Linked DNA regions of Homo sapiens: region 1 is linked to region 2. Evidence: promoter capture Hi-C in 16 types of primary human blood cells and fetal thymus (Javierre and others, 2016). All regions are on one chromosome and are shown on one strand. Each heading gives the region's core, a stretch centred on a gene start or on the middle of the fragment in contact. The rest is flanking DNA. Distances are from core to core; before and after follow the strand shown.

Region 1 (3,758 bases), core at 1,060-3,559, 500 kb after region 2:
ATTGATCAATCTTCCTCAATCTAAGTCCATAATGGAGCATCTAAAAGCTGGTTCTTCAAAATGGCAAAAGGTCAGCACTTCCAAAAAGTATCTCACCTAATGAGGGGGTAAATCATGGCTTGTGCCACTCCAGATCCCATCCTCATCTGTCTTTTTTTTTTTTTTTTAATAGAGATGGGCGGGGGGGTGCGTCTCACTATGTTGCCCAGGCTGGTCTCGAACTCCTGAGCTCAAGTGATCCTCCTGCCTCAGCCTGAGAAAGTGCTAGGATTACAGGCATGAGCCACCACACCCAGCCCCTCACTGTCTTCTAAACCAAAAATGATTTTCTAACTTGGTTGAAACCTTCCTGGTCTCCCAGCCTCCAGTTCTGCCACACTGTAATCCAGTTACCAAGCTGCAATCAAAATGGAAATCTGATCATCTCTCCCCTTCTTCCCTGGCTCCCCAAAATCTTCATCAAAGCCTTCCATATCTTAGCCCTTCCTGCATCATCTCTGTTCCTTAAATTGAACTTCACACTTTAAATCCCTCTCCCTCTTGTCATCACTACCTGGCCAGCTCATCCGGGCCTTAAGGCTCAACTCAGTCATCACCATGGAGCATCCCTCTAGCCCTGCACTGGGCCAACGCCAGTCTATAATCGCACAGTACCATGGGCACACCTCTTACCACACCGTACTGTTCAAGTCTGCATGTTCTGTCTTATTTATCTTCCTGCCTCTGGTAGCAGCATAAAGCCTGACACATCATGAGCATTCAATGTTTACTGAACTAACTCCAGAATGAAACTCTCTTCTACTTGCCCTCAACTCCCTACCTTCAATTTCCTGACCTACAACAGTGTCCTCAATGTGTTCTTTTAACAATGAATGTCTGACGCTGAATAGGATCAAGTGCTTTGCACAAGTTCATCATTAAACAACTCATATCAGAGACTAATGATAATGAGCTGATGCCCAGACTGGGAACTAAAACTTCGCAAATAACTTCTCATATGCTGAATCCCCTGAACAACTCTGGAGGACAGATATCCCTGTTATCTTTTCATTGTTTTCTTCAACCCTATCTTTCAAAACACACATACAACAAGAGCTGAGATACTTTGAGTATCTTTGAAAAATTTTGTCTGAAGCAAGAAGAAATCTGCATTTAGGTATCACTGATGAGGTAATCAGAATTCTTGTTTGACTTCTCCAAAAGATCCCTGATGCATTCAATTTACATATGTGCTTCCTCTCAGCCATATCCTGGTCTGAATACCAGCAATGTCACTTACTAGACAGACTTTGCTCATGTGCTTTTACAAGATAATACAAACTTCTGAATGTGTCATGTCCTGATCATTTAGGCTAAGGATCAATGAACTCAAATGTATAAGGAGGCCAAAGTAGCTTTGTCAAAGAGCAAAGCCGGCTCTGTGGAAAAAACGACAGCCTTGAGGACAATGACAAATTGCAGTCAACATGGGCATCACGGCCAATGAGAAACACTAGGGTGCTTTCGGGATGGCAGAAAGCTGAAAAGAGCTTGCCACTGCTAAAAGAAAGAGCCTGGTCACAACCCAGCTCTTCCGATTCCTGCTAAGCACAAACATAGACCTAGTGTTCCCAGATCCAACTTTCTTTTTTTTAAAGGTGGGGGAGGATGGAATCTAGATTTATGGCTGATATCTCCCAATTTATAAATATTGGGAACCAACATCAATTTTTTAAATACTGCGTATTTAAAGCACAGTAGAGCAGGCTGCAAGCCACCAGCCTGTGACATCTGGCTTTACGCCTAAGTTGCTCATTATCATTTTAAATGGCCCACTGATTCTTATAAACTTTTGTCTTCTCCAACATGACAGAAAGATCTTTTGTGACTGGAAATACATATGACCCTCCTAAGACTGGCACCCATTGTAGAACCCAAGATTTGATGTCCTGGACTCAGGAATAGATGGATTAAAGCATCCATGTTAATTAACATGAAGTTTTGTCTAGCTCACCAATCCAGGAGATTTTTTTCCCCTCTCATTGCATTTTTTTTAAATTTTTAATTATTATGACTACATAATAGTTATATATATTCCTCATATCTCAATTTAATTACCACAATCACTGTTTTTACAAGGTCCCAGGCAAGAAGAGGTGAGGCAAATGGAGGCTCTGAGGAAAGTGGCTCCAAAGCCTACATGATGGAAGATAACTCTGGAAGAGAAAGAGATGACGTTCCTAAGCTTGTATAGCAAAACTTGAGAGAAGGTAACGAAGATGTGACATCTGAACTCAGAGAAATATAACTTCTATAGAAAAGAAACAAGGCCTTGCAGCTCTATAAGGAACAGTAAATAAATCAAGTATGCACACAAGAAGTAAAAAAATATATCCAAGTAGAAAGGAAGCTTTTCATGAAATGTCCACAGAGCTCATGCTCTGTAGTGACTGTAATGCAAGATTCAAGGCTCTATCTAGAAAACTCCTAGCCAGTCTTGACGGACCAAGCCCTACACTGAGCATGTACAGAGTCTTCCTGTTCCATGCAGTACTTGCTAACAAAACTAATTTAAATGCCTTACCATGACTCGATCTCCTTTAAAGTACCTCATTAGTCCTTGATATCCCTTTGCTGTATCTCTGGCTTGCCTTGCCACTGCTCTGTGAGTCCCCACAACTCCTCCTCCACACATACTCTTCCCCCAAGAGCTTGGCACAGAATAAAGATCCATTTTAGATCTGGATTTAAATAGTTTTCTTTACTAGCTCATTTCCTTATCTACTAATGAGGGAAATACCACCTACGTCAGAGTGGGAATTAAATGAAATAATAAACCTAAAGACCCCAGCTCAATGGTTCAAACATAAATAATGCCAAATATTCATTCCTCTCCCCATGCCCATATCCTCTCACCAAGCCCCAATGTTCTATAGCTTATGACCCAAAACGCTAAAAGTAGAACATTCTAATATTGAGCATATTAACAGAAGCTTGAAGAGATATGCAAGTTATAAATCTGTTTTTGTTCTTCCTCACCAATATAAATTTGCTAAGTGACAGATTAAGACAGTCAATTCCAAGAAGTTGGATTCAATAACATGACATGAGGCACAAAGTAGCCCATATCAATAGCCAGGAATGATTTTATTGCAGCTTGTTATGCTAGTTGCCAGGAATTTTTTTTTAATCTTGAATGTTGCTTTAAATATAGTAATAAAAGAAAATATGACCGGCTGTTGAAGCCCATATGCTACTCCTTTTCAGGACTACAAAATGCTCATTCAGACTTTGTTTGTGCACAGCAAATAGTAGCCGGAGGGGAGCCAGTGAAATCAATGAAAACTTACTGTTTGGAAAACTAGCAAATAGAAAATTGGGGCTGTGTTTCTCTGGTTTCTTCTAATCTAAAACCTGTGATGGAAATCAAGTTGATTCTTGACTTTTTATTTCAATTTCACTGACAGTCCAAATAGAATGCCTAGTGATCTCTATGCTACAAATCTCCGCTTCATCATACAAATTAAGCACAGTTGATCACTCTGTTCCTGAAATATTTCCCCATGAAACCAGTTTCCTGGTTTTCTTCTCTTCTCTCCCTGGCCGTTCTTTCTGTTCTTTTGCTGGCTCTTGCTCCTGTGAATGTCAAGAGTTCCTTCCAGCTTGGTCCTTTGCCCGCTCTTGCACCCTCTCTCCTTGCTATCTCTCTCCTTGGTGATATCACACCTATTTCAATTGCTTTAAATACTCCCTGTACACTGGCAAGTCCCAAATTCCTT
Region 2 (3,627 bases), core at 534-3,033:
GGTCCTAATGAATTAGATAGCCATGCTGAATGTTTTATAGAAGAAATGACATAATGTCTGAGATCTGCTTTAAAATGCTACAAAAAACAACCATTGAATGTTGTTGATAACATTCAAAAGGCCAAATGAAAACTCAAATGGCCAAATATTGATAATTATTGAAGTGGGTGAATATGTACACAGTTATCTTAAACTGATCTACTTTTTTGTATGCTTAAACATTTCCATAATAAAATGATAAATTTAAAAATTTAATACATAAAACACAGAATCCAAAAGAAACAATTTCAAAGAATCTCACAGAGCAGCAGAAAGCTTTGGGGCCAGCAAACAGAAAGATGGTTCTCCTTCAGGTAATCAGTATCCAGAACTGGGATACTGATGGCAGATGGGAGTGTTATTATTTAACACATGGACTTTGAACAACTGCTGACCTAGGGGTTTCAATCACTAAAAGGGCTCCTCTTTCAGAAAATGCCAGAAATTGCCCAGCATGAAACAGGACAGTACAAACATTCTGCAACACACAGAAGAGGACCAGCAGAATCTGGACTTTTGAAAAAGAAAAAATCTAACTGAATAACAACATCAAAGTCTCCTGGGCAAAGGGGTTAAAGATTTACAACATTTCTTTAGAGGAAAAAAATAACTGGTTGAATTTACAGAGCATCTGCTATGTGCCAAACATTTAATGAGCACTTTAAAAGCATGATAAAAATTAAAAAAAAACTTGTTAAGCATGAAATAAATTACCTATAATGCAAAATCACTGATTTTAGTGCTTGGATATTTTTAAGTAATTAGTAGATTACCTTCAAAGAGTTCTAAGTTAAAAGTATTAGGGGCCAGGCACGACGGCTCACGCCTGTCATTCCAACACTTGGGAGGCCAAGGCACAAGGATTGCTTGTGGCAGGAAGTTTGATATCAACCTGGGCAACACAGCAAGACCCTGTCTCTACCAATTAGCTGGGTACAGTGTTGCATACCTGTAATCCCAGCTACTTGGGGCTGAAGTGGAAGGATCCCTTGAGCTCAGGAGTTCAAGTCTGCACTGAGCTATAATTGCACCATAGCACTCCAGCCTGGGTGACAGTGTGAGATCCTGTCTCTCTATGTTTTTTTTTTAATGTTTCTGGATATTGCTATAACCAAGTGGATGAACCAGAACCTACAGTAATTGCAGGAAGAGCCATGAGAGAAGCCACACCTTCCAGAGGACATGCCTCAATAAAATGTACCTCTTTCTGAGTATGCTGAATGTCAAACAGATGTACTGTTTAGAGAGGAGTGTGGAGGAGACAGGGTGAGGGAAGGAGGGAAAGCAAGGAAGGAGGGAGAAGGAAGAAGGGAAAGAGAAGGAAGAAAGAAAGAAAAAAGGAAGAAAAGGAGGAAGAAAGGAAGGAAGGGAATTAAGAGTAAAAATTTAATATGGCATTTATGGGGCATTTAGAAAGCCACAACATTCCTGTGAGAACAGCATTGTATACTCAGAGCCATCCTTAATAGAGAAATCTTGAGAGCACTTATGGCAGGCAAGCTCTACCTCCTGGGCAGGGAGAGAGACTAAGGGTGTCTGCTTATTATGCCATGAAATTACTGGCAGATTCCCAGTTTCTGGTCCACTGGATGATTTTGACCCACACACCTTCCCTGAAGCTTTAAGGAAAAGGTAACAGTAAAGTTAAAAATTAAGCTTTTAACTTCGACACAGTGATGTCAAAAGATTTGGTGAATGATTTATGGGGCTAAACTTGGTAATCCTAGAAAGTCAATATTGTGTAAAGTTGAGAGAAAAGTCTTCACAGCGGAAGAAGAAATCACTTTTTTGTCCCGAATCAGGTTAGTCTACGGGGCTCATTAAATGAAATGAGCAATCAGTTGATTCCCCAGAGGGCCGTAAGGGGGCATTCCCTGGCAAAGATATTATTGAAAGTACTTAGCAATAGGGGAAAATGTGGGGAGGGGTGGAATATGCCCTATCTTCTGAGGCTTTTCACAAGAGAAAAAAGAACATATTTTTAGCAATCAGTGTGAGGTTCACAGGGACACAAGGAAAGAGAAGTATGTGTTGTACAGTGTGTGATGCTTGTATAGCTGTGGTGTGCTGTGTCTGTAATGTGTGTGGCACACTGTGTACGCCTGGTGCATCTGTGCCCATCATTTATGTGTGTGTGTGGTTATGTGTGTGGTGTTTGTAGTTTGTACTTCCGTTTTGAGGATGCAGTATTGTAACGTATTTATATGTTTGGTTTGCTATGTGTCTGGAGTGTATGTGTGGAGAACATAAGGGGAGTTTGTACCATGTGTTTATGTTGTATGTATGTATGTGGTGCATACGTATGGGTGGTTTGTGTGTGCATTTGGTGTGTATGTATATATGTATTGAAATAAACAGCAGCCCCAGAAGAGGTTCCAATGTGTGATAATGATGGTTGACAAATTGCTTATTCAAAAATATTTTGCAAATCCAATCTCAGGACTTTGGTATCTTTGGGGCACTAGGTATCATATAATCTGATATGGTAAAATCCTGAGGTCTAACCTGACCAGCACATATTGGTGCTGAATTCTGATGGTAAGGGGTTGCCTGATAGGAGACTGCTCCATTCTGATTCTCCACTGAGCTTCCTGCCATAAAGCTTTGCATCAGTGGCTGCTCTATCCACGGAAACTGAAGATACGGACAGGGGCATGTGGACGTGTAACGAATGATTAGCCTCTGCTTGAGTTGATCTTATCAATAAGCAGATAGTATCTTCCAGCTCTATTAAGATACAGGGGGAAAAAAGGAATTTGTTTTACCTTTGCTTACTCCTTTTCTGACATTCTTCCTTTCTTTTCATACTGCCGAGTTTCTGACCTATAGCAATCTCCTTCTGCCTGAAAGGCTTCTTTTAGTGTTCCTTACAGGGCAGGTCTACTGGCAATGAATTCTTTCCATTTCTCACTTTGGAGGAATATTATCACGGATTTAGAATTCTGGATTGGCAGGGTTATTTGTTTGTTCTCTGTAGTTTTCAGGTCTTCCATATATTTTTAATCAACCAAAACAATCACAAAAGTAAAATAAATATCAAGGGAAGCACATAATGGAGGTGAATGGGCACTGCTGTGATGGAGCAAGTTATCCTTGGAAGCGGTTTTAAATCAGAGAGGAGTACTGGGTAGTGTTTGGTCAGTTGCCTCTCTACATTATGCTGACATCAACGTGTTTTGCACTCACAGTGGGTGGAGGCAAAACCCTTCAGCAAGAAGAGAAGCAACTTCAGCCGTGTATGCAAATGGATAACCGGTTGCCTCCCAAAAAAGGTAGCACTTTATTCTGTTCCATTAAACAGGTGTTCTTTTTCTTAAATATTACATCACAGATTCCATGTGGAAGAATATTTTTGTGATATACATATGGGGTCTTAAAAATGTTCAGAAAAGAAGGTAGAAGAAACCAGTCCTACTATGGTTTTCCACCAGAAAAGCCCTAAATAAAAAGATTCTACATACTCTGGTGGCTTACACTTTATTTTCATTTTTGCGCACTTGTCAGTTTATCATTTAGTGGAAAATATCAGAAAAAACTGGGCTATTTTGGTTCCATCTCCAAGAGAAAGAGAGATAGATCTGTAAGTGG

What was found. The method cuts DNA at HindIII sites, captures the fragments that hold promoters and counts their contacts. A CHiCAGO score of 5 or more calls a contact.
Region 1: a contact is called between a fragment that was not itself captured here and the fragment with the promoter of SLC17A1 in region 2, in 1 of 17 cell types (erythroblasts). The highest score is 6.0, in erythroblasts.

The regions. Positions count from the first base shown.
Region 1 is chr6:25,327,098-25,330,855 of GRCh38, reverse strand. All of the region lies in intron 2 of CARMIL1 (capping protein regulator and myosin 1 linker 1), which reads right to left. LOC124901281 (a long non-coding RNA gene) reads left to right here. Exons shown (of 3, transcript XR_007059512.1): 3 at 2,119-3,150. Among named protein-coding and RNA genes, the nearest start is that of CARMIL1, 50 kb to the right of the region's middle. The HindIII fragment of the contact is 165 bases long and covers 2,227-2,391 here.
Region 2 is chr6:25,830,208-25,833,834 of GRCh38, reverse strand. It overlaps SLC17A1 (solute carrier family 17 member 1), which reads left to right and starts at 1,783. Exons shown (of 13, transcript NM_005074.5): 1 at 1,783-1,841; 2 at 3,228-3,311. The coding sequence starts at 3,278. The HindIII fragment of the contact is 946 bases long and covers 1,698-2,643 here.